Regions from separate parts of the Homo sapiens genome. Here region 2 is linked to region 1. The links are contacts of gene promoters, found by promoter capture Hi-C in human tissues and cell types (Jung and others, 2019). All regions are on one chromosome and are shown on one strand. Each heading gives the region's core, a stretch centred on a gene start or on the middle of the fragment in contact. The rest is flanking DNA. Distances are from core to core; before and after follow the strand shown.

Region 1 (6,946 bases), core at 591-3,090:
CTCATTTTCTCATTTCTCCTTTTTAGCCCCTCTTGGTTGGCTGCCTGGGGATCTGCCCTTCTACAGGAAAGAATCAACTTCCCTGAGCACTCTCTGAGGGACAGTAGCTGATAATTAAGGTTCAAATCCCAGCACTGACACTCACTATGTAATCGTGGGAAAATCATTTTAACTTTCTGAGTCTCAGTTTCTTCACCTGCAATATGGGAATTATACTCCCTACCTTTCACCACTTGTTGCCAGGATGAAGTGGATCATGAGACTAGTGTCCTGGGCACAGCACCTGGCACACAGTGGTGGCATTCACCACCATCCCCACCGCCTCAGCCAAGCCAAACGGTCTGGAGGCACTAGTCAACAGAACCAGTACCAGGGAGACCCCAGAGGGTACGGTATGTATTCAAGGTGGAGACAAAGGCTGATACCCTTTCCCAAAGCACCTGCTGGGGGCTGGGACCCTGAGAAACAGATGGGCAGGAATAGTGAACCCAGCAGCTGGGGGTGTGCAAGGATTTTAACAACTATGTTTAGTTGCTTTGGGAGTATCTGCTGGCCTCCATTTTTCCTCTCCGCTAACAGCAGTAATTAACTAGGCACCTACAGTGTGCTGGTGTGGTGAGCCCTGCTCTCAGAAACATCACAACTCTGTCATCCTCTTATACAGTTGAGGAAACAGATTCAGAGGCGGGACGGGACTTTTGCAACCTCACACAGCTGATCCTGGATTCAAACACAGTCTGGTTGCACCCTAACTGCACCCCACTAGCGGTCAGTCCTGGGGGCTGAAAGCTCTATCCTGTGCAAGGTGGAGATAGTCAGATCAGGAGACCCAAATCCAGCTGTCAGGGCTCCCTGCAGCCTTCCTGGGTCCTTAGATTCCTAGGTCCTTGCTGGCCTTCTGCCTGTGACCCCAGCCTGTGCCTGCACCCAGGCCTCCTATCCACCCCTGTGCTTCCCAGACTCCAGGCTTCCCCTCTGCACCCACCTTGGTTGCTTCTCAGGGACTCCCTCCTCCCTGTCCCACTGGTGTCCCGGCCTCAACCCCCTTTCTCCACACTCTGCTTTCCGGGGGACCCCTCTTGTCCTTGATGTTCATGCTGGTTACCCCTCAGACCCCCCCGCCTCCACACAGAACTCCCACCCACGTGTCCTTGGTGCTCCCACAATCTTATCCACACCTGTGTCTTCCGTGCCCCCTAAGGCCACCAACTACTGAAACCCCCTCCAACCTTGGTGTGCCCAGTGCCCTCCGTTACCTGTTTCCTCAGACCCCCCTTACCCCCAGACAGGAAGCCTCCAGCTCCATGTCCTGGGCGCGCTGCCAGCCCCCTGCGCCCTCGGCTGCCCCCAGACACCACGACCCCGCGCCCTCGGTGTCCCGCGCCCACCTTTGATGCTGATGCCCAGCCCACCGGCGTCGGCCTTGCGCACCGTCACGCGGCGCCGCTGGAGCAGTAGCGCCTCTGGCAGCTGCGGGGGCCCGGCGCCCGGCTCCGCGGCGCCGTTGAGCTGCGCGGGCTCCTGCTCCCGCGGAGCGCCGGGCTCGGGACCAGGGTCGCCGTCGGCGGGGCTCACGGTCAGCACGTCCTCCGCCAGACTCAGCAGCACCCGCTGCCATCGCTCGCCGCCGGCCCCCGAGCCCGCCCCGGCGCGCAGCTCCAGCAGCCCGGTGCGCGGGGCGCGCCTGCCGGACGCCATCTTCGCCTCCGAGCCCCCGGGCCGCCGCGCTCGCCCTGTCCCGCTTTGCCCAGCCCGCTCCGACCAAGCGCCCAGGGCAGAGGGCAGCGGGGGCCCGGCTGGGCCAGCCGCCACCCTACCCCGGCCGCTGGGGGAGGAGCTCTGGGGGCGGGGCTACCCTGGGGTGTGGCCAGTGCTGGGGAGGGGGCCTCGGGCAAATGCAGGAGGCCGGGGCGGGGCCCGGGAGCCGAGGGCCGCCGTGTGGGACTACCTAGCGGGGTGGGTCAGAAGGGCGGCGGGGCGGGCCACTAAGTAAGGCGAAAGCCCGGGAGGCGTGGTGCTGGGCGGGGCGTCAGGGGGCGGGGCTTCGCGTCGGGGGCGGAACCCAGTGAGCCCGCGCAGGGGGCTCGGCGCTCGGAATGCCCATCGAGGGCCGGGACTGTAACTCCCGGACGTGGGAGCGCATGAAAAAGAGACAGAACCACGTATCCTGGTGCGAAGCACTGGGCATCGGGCTGGGCTGCATATGGCGGAGGGCTGGGCTGCGTATGGTAGAGCGTTGGACTCCAAGGCTTGAGTTTAAGAGGTAGACACCGTCTGGGCGTGGAGGCTCACGCCTGTAATCCCAACACTTTGGGAGGCCTAGATGACAGCCCAGAAGCTCGAGGCTGCAGTAAGCCGCGATCGCGCCACTGCACTCCAGCCTGGGTGACAGAGCGAAACCCTGTGTCAAAAAAAAAAAAAAAAAAAAAAGGTAGATGCTGAGCCGCGAGAGACCTTGCGGGCACAGTTGCTAGTTGGGGAGCTGAGGAAGAAGTTGGTTTCCTATCGGGGAGGGCGGGGGATGGGGGGTGGGGGTCGAGGCTTTGGTCTGTGGGCGTGGCTTATCGCTGGCGTGGCTTCTAAAGATGACAGGCCCCGCCCCCTGGAGGAGACCGCTACCGACACCGCTTAGGGCTTGGGGGAGGTGTGGGCAGGATCCCCACTTCAAAACTGGAGGGAAGTTTAAGAGATTAACCCCTGGCTGTGTTCACAGTCGAGTATAGAAAAGCCTGAAGTCCCACACTTTGAGGCCTGGCAGAAAAAAAACAGAACTGGTGTGTGGGAAGAGGGTTGCAAGGTGGGGCTCTGGGTCTGGGCGACTGGAGACATGGTTTCTAATCTTTGCTGCCTCTGTTAGCTCCAAGTCGACTTTGGTCCCCTCACGTCACTGCTCTAGGCCTCAATTTCCTCATCTGTAAAATGTGGATCATAATAATACCTACTTCACTGGGCTGGTGTGAGGATTAAATCAATGTGAAAACACGTGGTAAACTGTGACTCCCTATTCTATAGAAATAATCACTTTCATTTAGTGAATGCTTACTCTTACCTAGGGCTGGCAGAATATTTTCCAAGTGTTATCTTTACATTAGCCTCCTGGAGTAGCTAAGAGCACCCCCAGCTGGGCACAGTGGCTCACACCTGTAATCACAGCTGAGGTGGCAGGATCGCTTGAGCCTTGGAGGTCCAGGCTGCAGTGAGCTGTGATTGCACCATCACACTCCAGCCTTGGTGACAGAGCAAGAAAAAAGAGCACCCCTATTATACAGAAGGGAAAACTTGGATTTAGTCTAATTGGCCTAGGTCACACATTTATGAGTGAGGAAGAGCTGCGATTCAAACCCAGGCCTGTTTGACACCAGTGCCTGGGCACTGAACCACTCTGCTAGACAGCTGACAAATACAGAGGTAAAGCATGATTGTAATCTGAAAAATCCACCACATCACACAGCTCAACTGGCCTTCATACCTGCTCCTTGTCTCTATCCTCCATTCCTAGCTGGGATATGTTGAGCAATAAATAAGTAGGACTACACCAGTGTTTAGCCTCCCTGAACTTTTGGGTAAAATCCTCCACATAAGATACCATCAAGAAAAAAAAGAGGGGGCCAGGTATGGTGGCTCATGCCTGTAATCCCAGCACTTTAGGAGGCCGAGGCAGGTAGATCACGAGGTCAGGAGTTTGAGACTCAGCCTGGCCAACATGGTGAAACCCCATCTCTACTAAAAATATAAAAAAATTAGCCGGGCGTGGTGGCAGACACCTATAATCCCAGCTACTCAGGAGGCTGAGGCAGGAGAATCACTTGAACCCGGGAGGCGGAGATTGCAGCAAGCAGAGATTGCACCACTGCACTCCAGCCTGGGTGATAGGGTGAGACTCCGTCTCAAAAAAAAAAAAAAAAAAAACCAACAACAAAAAAAAGGAATTGTTTTAAGTTAGAGTGGTAGGTGTCAAAACAGGAGAGACACAGGTTTTAAAAAAAGAACCCAGGGTCTTTTATACATATATATATGGGATGCCGAGGAGGAATGATCACTTGAGGCTAGGAGTTTGAGACCACTTGGGCAACTTCACGAGACTCCATCTCTACAAAATAAAGAAATTAGCCAAGCGTGGTAATGTGCACCTGTACTCCCAGCTACTTAGGAAGCTGCAGCAGGAGGCCTGTTTGAGGCTGCTGCTGTGAGCCACAATCATGCCACTGCACTCCAGCCTGGGTGACAGAGCAAGACCCTGTCTCAAAAATAAATAAAAGAAAGTGAGAGGAAGGAAGGAGAGAAGGGAGGCAGGGAAGGAATATAGCATTGTATATAAGCATTGATATCTTAAAAGTATGACTGTGCTTAAAGATTGTAGGACAGCCTGAGGAATTTGGGGTAAGCACTTGTGATAAATAACTACAGCCTACTTGGCTTGTGGAAGCTTCACTCCAATGGTAGAGAAGGGAGGGGAGGACAGACCTGGCAGGAGGCAAGAGACCAGCAGGGAATTGAAGCTCCTTTCCCAAGACCAAAGCCTGGAACCAGATCCTTAAAAGTCCCCCCACGTACTGCCCTGCTTAAAAAAGACTTAATGAGGCCCAGACAAACTTACTGAGAAAGAGCCCTAAGAGAGGGCTTCTCCTCTGGGGGACAGTTTCCTGTGGATATAACAGGAAGGAAGGAAGTAGGGAAAGGAGTGATGTGTGCAAAGGGGCTAACACAGAAAGAAGATGTAGAGCCAAGGAAACAGTGACGTGTGTATGCATATGTATACGTCTGTATGTGAGTATGGGTGTGTGTGTTTGTGATCACACTTGATAGGCAGTGCCAATCACCTGTAGCTACCCCCAAGAACCCTGTAGCTGCAGGAATGCTCTATCCCTACACTGTGGTCAGCCGATGCCTCTCTGCTGTGGCTCAGAAATTGGCCTCCCAGATAGATACACATAGGCCCGGCTCCCTGCCAAGCCCCAGGCAGAGCTCCCAGAGAAAACCAGTTCACTCCCAAGGAATAGGAGAGGGGGAAGGGGAAAAAAAGGGAGAGAGGGGAGCTGCCCAGCCTACTAAAGTCTCTGCAAGCTCTGGCCAGGCGCGGTGGCTCACACCTGTAATCCCAGCACTTTAGGAGGCCTAGGCGGCTGGATCACCTGAGGTCAGGAGTTCAACAGCAGCCTGGCCAACATGGTAAAACCCCATTCTCTACAAAAATACGAAAATTAGCTGGGCACGGTGGCTCAAGCCTGTAATCCCAGCACTTTGGGAGGCCGAGGTGGGCAGATCACGAGGTCAAGCTATCGAGACCATCCTGACCAACATGGTGAAACCCCGTCTCTACTAAAATACAAAAACTTGGCTGGGCACGGTGGCTCATGCCTGTAATCCCAGCACTTTGGGAGGCCGAGGCGGGCGGATCGCGAGGTCAGGAGATCAAGACCATTCTGGCTAACACAGTGAAACCCCATCTCTACTAAAAATACAAAAAGAAATTAGCAGGGCGTGGTGGCGGGCGCCTGTAGTCCCAGCTACTCAGGAGGCTGAGGCAGGAGAATGGCGTGAACCTGGGAGGCGGAGCTTGCAGTGAACCAAGATGTGCTGCTGCACCTCAGCCTGGGTGTCAAAGCGAGACTCCGTCTCAAAAAAAAAAAAATCTATGCATAAATCCTAAACAATCTACTGTTTAGTTTTACATTTTTTAACATCACATAAATGGACATTTCTCCTTCTGCTTTTGGAAGTTATATTCTCTAGTTGTATTAAGAGCACTCTATTATCTTCAATTACTTACTCTCCCAAATTATTTGCTATGTTGTTAAGTATTTAGCGCTAAATATTTTTCTTTTTATTTATTTATTATTATTATTTTTTTAAGACGGAGTTTCACTCCTATTGCCCAGGATGGGGTGCAGTGGCGCGATCTCCACTCACTGCAACCTCCGCCTCCCGGGTTCAAGCGATTCTCCTGCCTCAGCCTTCCAAGCAGCTGGGATTACAGGCGCCCGCCATCACACCCAGCTAATTTCTGTATTTTTAGTAAAAACAGGGTTTCTGCAGTGAAACCCCATCTCTACTAAAAATACAAAAAATTGGCCAGGCATGTTGGTACACGCCTGTAGTCCCACCTTCTTGGAAGGCTGAGGCAGGAGAATCTCTTGAACCCAGGAGGCAGATGTTGCAGTGAGCTGAGATCACACCACTGCACTCCAGCCTGGGTGACAGAGTGAGACTCTGTCTCAAAAAAAAAAAAAAAAAGGGGGTTTCACCACGTTGGCCAGGATGGTCTTGAACTCCTGACCTCAGATGATCCGCCCACCTCGGCCTCCCAAAGTGCTGGAATTACAGGTGTGAGCCATCGCACCCAGCCTCTTTTTATTTAGTTTTTTATTTTATTTTATTTTATTTTATTTTGAGACTGAGTCTCACTCTGTCACCCAGGCTGGAGTGCAATGGCACTATCTTGACTCACTGCAACCTCTGCCTCCCAGGTTCAAGCGATTCTTCCAACTCAGCCTCTAGAGTAGCTGGGATTACAGGCACATGCCACCACGCCCAGCTAATTTTTGTATTTTTGTAGAAACGGAATTTCACCATGTTGGCCAGGCTGGTTTCAAACTCCTGACCTCAGGCAACCTGCCCGCCTCAGCCTCCCAAAGTGCTGGGATTACAGGCATGAGCCACTGCACCCAGCCTGAAGGTGGCAGGCAAAGCTTTCTATCAAAGAAGGCCAAATGCCTCTTGCCCAATCTTTAATTATCTCTTAAATTAGAATATCTTACTCAAATCTCCATGTCTCTTAACTTTCTTTCATATCTTCTCTTTACTTTTTTCCATACTGCATTCTGAGTAATTTCTTCAGTGATATCTTCCAGTTTACTAATTCTTTCTTTAACTAGAACTAATCTACTGTTTATCCTATTCTTTGAATTTAAAATATCAATTGTTACTTTTTTATTTCTAGAAATTC
Region 2 (7,394 bases), core at 132-2,631, 42 kb before region 1:
CCAATCTGACGGGAGGCAGAGCTCAGGCAGTAATGCCAGCTTTGCTGCTCACCTCCTGCTGTGCAACCCGGTTCCTCACAGGCCACAGACAGGTACCATTCTACCACCTAGGGTTAGGGGAACCCTGCTATACACGTGTAAAGAGCAGATGTGGCCCATTACCTTTCCAATGAGATGACCTGCCACATCTGCTACTAGCACTTAGGAGCAATGCCAACCCAGTTTCAAGAGTCAGAGAAGAACAGCCTTAAAGTGTGAACTTTAAAATCGCCCCTTTCTACTCCATAATTGCTGTGTGACCTTTGGCAAGACAAATTTCTGTCTCTGAGCCGCCAATTCCACATGTGTAAAATAAGGATAAAAGCAGCACCTACCACCCCATAAGTGTTATTAAGAATAAGATATTAAAAACCCAACTTGAGATACAGTAAGCGTTCACTAACTGCACATTTACAGCCCACACCCCCTTTCACAGAGAGTATTAGAGCATCCTGGTTAAGAGTATGAACTCCACTAAAAATACAAAACTTAGCCGGGTGTGGTGGTATGCGCCTGTAATCCTAGCTACCCAGGAGGCTGAGGCAGGAGAATCGCTGGAACTCGCGGGGCAGGGGCTACAGTGAGCCGAGATCGCGTCACTGCACTCCAGCCTGGGCGACAGAGCAAGACTCCCGTCTCAAGAAAAAAAAAGTATGGACCCTGGAGTCAGAATCTGACCCCACTGCTGCCAAGCCAGCTAAACCTTAGGCACCTGTCTTAAACTCTGGGAGCCTCTAGATGGGGATAATAGCACCTATCTCCATAAGCCTACCGTAGGATCAAATGCAATAATACAAGCAAAATGCTTTGCATAACGCAATGTAGAAGCCTCTCTGGAGGCTCGAAATTAATTCTGACAGTCGGCAATGAGGCTGGAACAACAGCGTACAACATCCCAAACATTTTATTGGCTGGTTACAATGCGTTAGGCATGGTGCAAAGCATTTTCCGCGAATTATTACCTATAACCCTCATAGCAACCCTGTGAGGCAGGCTGTACTGTCAACCCCACTTCACGGGTGGCGAAGCGAAGCCTTGAAAGAAGTGGAGGTGACCTGTCCAAGGTCACACGGGGTTAGGCGGCGGGGTTAGGGTACGAACCCCTACAGCCTGACGCCAGGCCCCACGCCATAACCACCGTGCCATCCTCCCTCTTGAACACCGTGCGCTTCCCGGGATCCGCGGCCCCTCCTGCCCCAGGCGCCAGTCAAAAGCGGGTGCGCAGCCCACCCCGGCGGCCGCGCTGCTCACCTCCCGCAGCAGCAACAGTGCCCGGGGTCCCGCAGCGTAAGTTCTGCCGGCAAGTCGGATCCCCTCACAGGTCCGCCGCTGCGTTCATACACAAGCGACTTCCGTTCCGCCGCTACTTCAGGCCGGGTCATGCTAACGGAAGTGCTTCCTTTTTACAGTCCGGGTGGACCCAAAGCTCCGTGGCGGTGCTGAACTTTAGGGCAGCCACTAGCCACGGACTTAAGCGGCAATTGAGCTCCTCAAAGTGGGTGAGTGCAAATCAAATGTGCGCTAAATGTCAGATACACTGGATGTGGAAGAAGAAATGTCAAATAGTGTCAAATAGTTCATATATATAATGTTTATATTGATTATGTGCTGCAATAATTGTTGGGATATATTGGATTAAATAAGTACATTTGTTGAATTAGTTTTTTTTATTTGTAGCTATGGTGGTAGAAATATTTGAATTAAGTTCACCTGTTGTTTCTTTTTACTTTTTCAATGTGGCTAGCAGGGGGAAAAATAATATGGTGTGATCATGGCTCACTGCAGCTTCCGCCTCCCATGCTAAAGCAATCCTCCCACCTCACACTCCCAAGTGGCTGGGACTACAGGCAGGCGCCACCACGCCCAGCTAAAATTTTTTTAATTTTTTTGTAGAGACCGGTCTCCCCATGTTGCCCAGGCTGGTCTCAAACTCCTACCTAGGCGCAAGCCATCCTCCCACCTTGGCCTCCCAAAGTGCTGGGATTGTAGGCATGAGCCACCGTGTCCGGTCCTTACTGGGAAATTTTAAGTCACCTAAGAGGTTCACGCTCTATTTCTATTGGAGGGTGCTGCCCTGTAGGTTAATGACTTCCTGATTCACATCTCCAGCTGGACCCTCCCTGCAGTACCAGAGCCATAGCTCAGCTGCCTACTTGACACCCCTTCTTGAGTGTCTGATGACCATCTCTAACTTATACAGAACTCTTCATTTCCACACATGCACCTTCACCAAAAACCTGTACCTGTCATTCTGGCCCATCTCAGTAAATGGCCCAACCATCCTTCCAGGTGCACTAGGAGGAACTGAATGGTCATTTTCTTCACCTCCCTGGATCCCCACATTCTATCTGTCAGTAAGCCCTGTCAACTCTAACTCCAAAATGTCAAATCTGTCTACTCGGTAGCTACAACTACCCAGGCCACCATTGTCTCATCAGAAACAATCACAGTAGCCTGCTAATGGTCACCTTGTCTCCTGAGAACAGTTTCCCACACATAGCCTAAGGGAATTTGTGTTTGTTTTATTAAATCAAATTATATCACCCCTCTCCTGAAAACTCTCCGTGGCAGGCCGGGCGTGGTGGCTCACATCTGTAATCCCAGCACTTTGGGAGGCCAAGATGGGCAGATTGCTTGAGCCCAGGAGTTCTAGACTAGCCTGAGCAACATGATAAAACCCCATCTCTACAAAAAACACAAAAATTACCCCGGCATGGTGGTGGGTACCTGTGGTCCCAGCTACTCAGAAGGCTGAGGCAGGGAGGATTGCTTGAGCCAGGGAAGTTGAGGCGGCAGTGAACCATGACCTCAACACTGCACTCCAGCCTGGGTACCAGAATGAGACCATGTCTTGAAAAAGAAAAAAACAAAAACAGCCGGGCACGGTGGCTTATGCCTGTAATCCCAGCACTTTGGGAGGCTGAGGTGGGTGGATCATGAGGTCAGGAATTCGAGACCAGCCTGGCCAATATGGTAAAACCCCGTCTCTACTAAAAATAAAAAATAAAAAATAGCTGGGCATGGTGCCGCGTGCCTGTAGTCCCAGCTACTCGGGAGGCTGAGGCAGGACAATTGCTTGAACCCAGGAAGCGGAGATTGCAGTGAGCCAAGATCGAGCCACTGCACTCCAGCCTGGGCGACAGAGCAAGACTCCATCTCAAAAAAAAAAAAAAAAAGAAAAGAAAAGAAAAAAACAAAAACAAAAAGCTTAAGAGCTTTCCATTGCCCGTGCAATAAAATCCAGATTTCCTACTGTATCCTAGGGGCCTGCATGATGTGGCCCCTGCTTTTTTTTTTTGAGACGACGTCTCACTCACTCTGTCGCCCAGGCTGGAGTGCAGTAGTGCAATCTCGGCTCACTGCAACATCCGCCTCCCAGGTTAAAGCGACTCTCCTGCCTCAGCCTCCCGAGTAGCTGGGATTACAGGCGTGCACCACCACGTCAAACTAATTTTTGTATTTTTAGTAGAGCAGGGTTTCACCATGTTGGCCAGATTGGTCTCAAACTCCTGGCCTCAAGTGATCCGCCCACCTCGACCTCCTAAAGTGCTAGGATTAGAGGCGAGCACCACCACGCCCGGCTGATTTTTGTTTTTACTAGAGATGGGTTTTCGCCATGTTGGCCAGGCTGGTCTCAAACTCCTGGCCTCAAGTGATCCTCCCACCTCAGCCTGCCAAAGTGCTGGAATTACAAGCATGAGCCACCATGTCTGGCCCCCTGCTTACTTTTACTTCTCCAACCCATGTACTTCTTACCACTTACTTCTCCTACTGTGTTCTTTCTAGTTGACTATACTTCAACTACATAATTTTATCTTGCTCCTTCAATAACCCAAGCAAATGTTTATTTCAGACCCTCTGTCCTTTTTTTTTTTTCTTTTCTTTTTTGAGACGGAGTCTTGCTCTGTTACCCAGGCTGGAGTGCAATGGCGTGATGTTGGCTCACTACAACCTCCACCTCTCGGGTTCAAGCAATTATCCTGCCACAGCCTCCCAAGTAGCTAGGATTACAGGCACGCAACACCATGCCCACAGAGCTTCTCTTCTTACTATTATCTTTCTGGAATGCTCTTCTCCAAAATTGTTTCGTGGCTGGCCCCTTCTCATCCTTTAGGTCTCAGCATAAATATCAGCTCTTCAGAGAGACCCTCTCTGACCACTTCATATAAACTACTCTATCACTTCTCTTATTATTTTCTTCACCATATTTGTCACTATTCAAAATGTTGGCATTACTTATTTTCTTATCATTGCCTATTCCCTGGACTATCAGCTAGGGAGGGACACGTCGTGTCTTGTTCATGGCTTTATCCCCATGATCTACACAGGGTCTGACTCATAGAAGGGCTTAATGAAAATTTGTTGAATGAATAAATGACTGCTTTCTGTCTTAGTTTGGGCTCCCCAGAAGCAGACCTGAGACAAGTATTTTTTTTTTTTTAGACCAAGTCTCACTCTGTTACACAGGCTGGAGTGTAGTGGCCCAATCTTGGCTCACTGCAACCTCCACCACCCGGGTTCAAGCGATTCTCCTGCCTCAGCCTCCTGAGTAACTGGGATTACAGGCAAGCGCCACCACACCCGGCTAATTTTTGTATTTTTAGTAGAAACAGGGTTTCACCATATTGGCCAGACTGGTCTCTAACTCCCCACCTGCGGTGATCCACCCACCTTGGCCTCCCAAAGTGCTGGGATTACAGGCATGAGCTACTGTGCCCGGCTACTGAGACAAGTATTTGAGTGCAGGTAGTTGATTTGCAAAGTAATCTCAGGAAACACTGGTAGGGTAGTAGGGGAGTGAAACAGGGAGGGGAGACAGCCAATAAACATTGTTAACAAGCAACTTTCTTGCAGGCATCTAGGTCTTAATCCTGCTGGAGAACACTGGGAAATAATGCAGAACACTGTGCTGGTTAATTATTTGTGTCAACTTGACTGGGCCACAGGTTGCCCAGATATCTAGTTAAACGTTATTTCTGGGTGTTTCTTGAGGAAGAGATTAGCTTTGGTGGACTGAGTAGAGTAGACTACCCTCCACAATCTGGATGGACATCATCTAACCCCTTGGGGACCCAAATAGGACAGGAAGACAGAGCAAGGTTGAATTCTCTGTCTGCCTGACTGCTTAAGCTGAGACATTGGTCTTCTCCTGCCCTTGGACTGGGACTTAAACACCATTGGCACTCCTGATTCTCAGTCTTTTAGATTCAAACTGGAATTTACACCACCACCTTTCCTCGGTGTGCAGCTTGCAGATGGCAAATTGTAGGACTTCTCAGCCTCTATAATCACTTGATCCAATTCCTTATGATAAATCTCATTCTAGATGTAGAAATATACATATAGTGGCCAGGCACAGTGGCTCATATCTGTAATCCCAGCACTTTGGGAGGCCAAGGTGGGAAGATCACTGGAGGTCAGGAGTTCGAGACCAGCCTGGCCAACATGGTGAAACCACATCTCTAATAAAAATGCAAAAATTATGGCCAGGCGCAGTGGCTCACACCTGTAATCCCAGCACTTTAGGAAGCCGAGGCAGGCGGATCACCTGAGGTCAGGAGTTCAAGACCAGCCTGGCCAACATGGTGAAACCCCCGTCTCTACTAAAAATACAAAAAAATTAGCCGGGCATGGTGGCGAGCGCCTGTAATCCCAGCTGCTCAGGAGGCTGAGGCAAGAGAATTGCTTGAGGCCAAGACAGGAGGATTGCTTGAGTTCAGGAGTGTGAGACCAGCCTGAGTAACATGGCAAGACCCCATCTCTACAACAAATTAAAAAATAAAAAATTAGCCAGCCATGGTGGCACAGTCCTATAGTCTTAGCAACTTGGGAGGCTGAGGTAGGAGGATCACTTGAGCCTGGGAGGCCGAGACTGCAGTAAGCTGGGATCCCGCAACTGCACTCCAGCCTGGGCAACAAAGCGAGACCCCACCTCCAAAACAAAAAATAGGGCGGAGGGTGGTGTTCCAAGTGAAGGCACCAGACTGCTGATGGCCAGAAGGAAAAGGAGTGAGTCTTTGGTGGTTTGGGATGTTGCTGAAAATTTAGTGGATAAGCTGAGAAAATTTCATTTTCACAAAGAAACAATGCTACCATTGTAAGTAAGCTAAAAGTGATTGCCTCAAAGTTAAGTTACCTGGTCTCTCTTTTTTTTTTTTTTGAGACAGAGTCACGCTCTGGGGCCCAGGCCGGAGTGCAGTAGCGCAATCTCTGCTCGCTGCAAACTCCACCTCCAGGGTTCAAATGATTCTCCTGTCTCAGCCTCCCGAGTAGCTGAGATTACAAGTGCACACCACCATATCTGGCTAATTTGTTGTTGTTGTTGTTTGTTTTGTTTGTTTTTTTGAGACCGAGTCTCACTCTGTTACCCAGGCTGGAGTGCAGTGGCCGCGATCTCAGCTCACCGCAACCTTCACCTCCCAGGTTCAAGCAATTCTCCTGCCTCAGCCTCCTGAGTAGCTGGGATTACAGGCAGGTGCCACCATGCCCGGCTAATTTTTGTATTTTTAGTAGCAACAGGGTTTCACCATGTTGGCCAGGCTGGTCTTGAACTCCTGACCTCAGGTGATCCGCCCACCTCAGCCTCCCAGAGTGCTGGGATTACAGGCATGAGCCATCACACCAGGCACATCATCTTTGTTTTATCTTGTCGCTACATTAAAGAAACTGAACCTTTCAAAAGTTTAAAAAAAAAAAAGTTCTGGGCTTGGCACGGTGTCCTAGCACTTTGGGAAGCTGATGCAGGAGGATCACTTGAGGTCAGGAGTTTAAAACCAGCCTGGCCAACATGGTGAAACCCTATCTCTACTAAAAATACAAAACATTAGTGGGGCATGGTGGTGGGCGCCTGTAATCCCAGCTACTCAGGAGGCTGAGGCAGGAGAATCGCTTGAACCGGGAGGTGGATGTTGCAGTGAGATGAGACCCTGCCTGGGTGACAGAGCAAGACTCCGTCTCAAAAAAAAAAAAGTTCTCCATCATTGCCATTGTCATTGTGATTTTAGGTAGGGAGTCATAACCACTGCCCACTCACATCCAGCCAGCACATCGCAGTTTCCGAAGTACCAAACACATTCCACTCCACCTCCCTTCTGCAGGAAAGGGTCCTGAAGCTCTCTAAGATGGCTTTGACATGGGTCCACAAATTCTTTGACATTCCTTTCTTCAAGAGGTGGAGCCTAATTCCCCTCCCTTTGAGTGTGGACTGAACTTAGTGACTCATTTCTAATGAATAGAACAAAGCAGAAGCAACAGTGTAAGGCTTCCAAGACCGGGTCATAAGAGGCACTGTTTGTGGCTTCCTCCTTGCCCTCTCTTCTGTCTCACTGTGGGGAAAGCCAACTGCCATATCATGA

The links. Contacts are between HindIII fragments. The study calls those that stand out against the background at their distance.
Region 2: a contact is called between the fragment with the promoter of CDK5RAP1 here and the fragment with the promoter of SNTA1 in region 1, in 1 of the 25 tissues and cell types used here (psoas muscle).

The regions. Positions count from the first base shown.
Region 1 is chr20:33,441,923-33,448,868 of GRCh38, forward strand. It overlaps SNTA1 (syntrophin alpha 1), which reads right to left and starts at 1,841. Exons shown (of 8, transcript NM_003098.3): 1 at 1,389-1,841. The coding sequence starts at 1,698. RefSeq lists silencers at 1,387-1,446, 1,557-2,036 and enhancers at 2,267-2,336, 2,315-2,815, 2,787-2,846. The HindIII fragment of the contact is 21,074 bases long and covers 1-5,557 here.
Region 2 is chr20:33,400,138-33,407,531 of GRCh38, forward strand. It overlaps CDK5RAP1 (CDK5RAP1 mitochondrial tRNA methylthiotransferase), which reads right to left and starts at 1,382. Exons shown (of 14, transcript NM_016408.4): 1 at 1,291-1,382. It overlaps LOC124904889 (a long non-coding RNA gene), which reads left to right and starts at 1,445. Exons shown (of 2, transcript XR_007067567.1): 1 at 1,445-1,538. RefSeq lists enhancers at 1,093-1,182, 1,323-1,522. The HindIII fragment of the contact is 17,720 bases long and covers 1-6,589 here.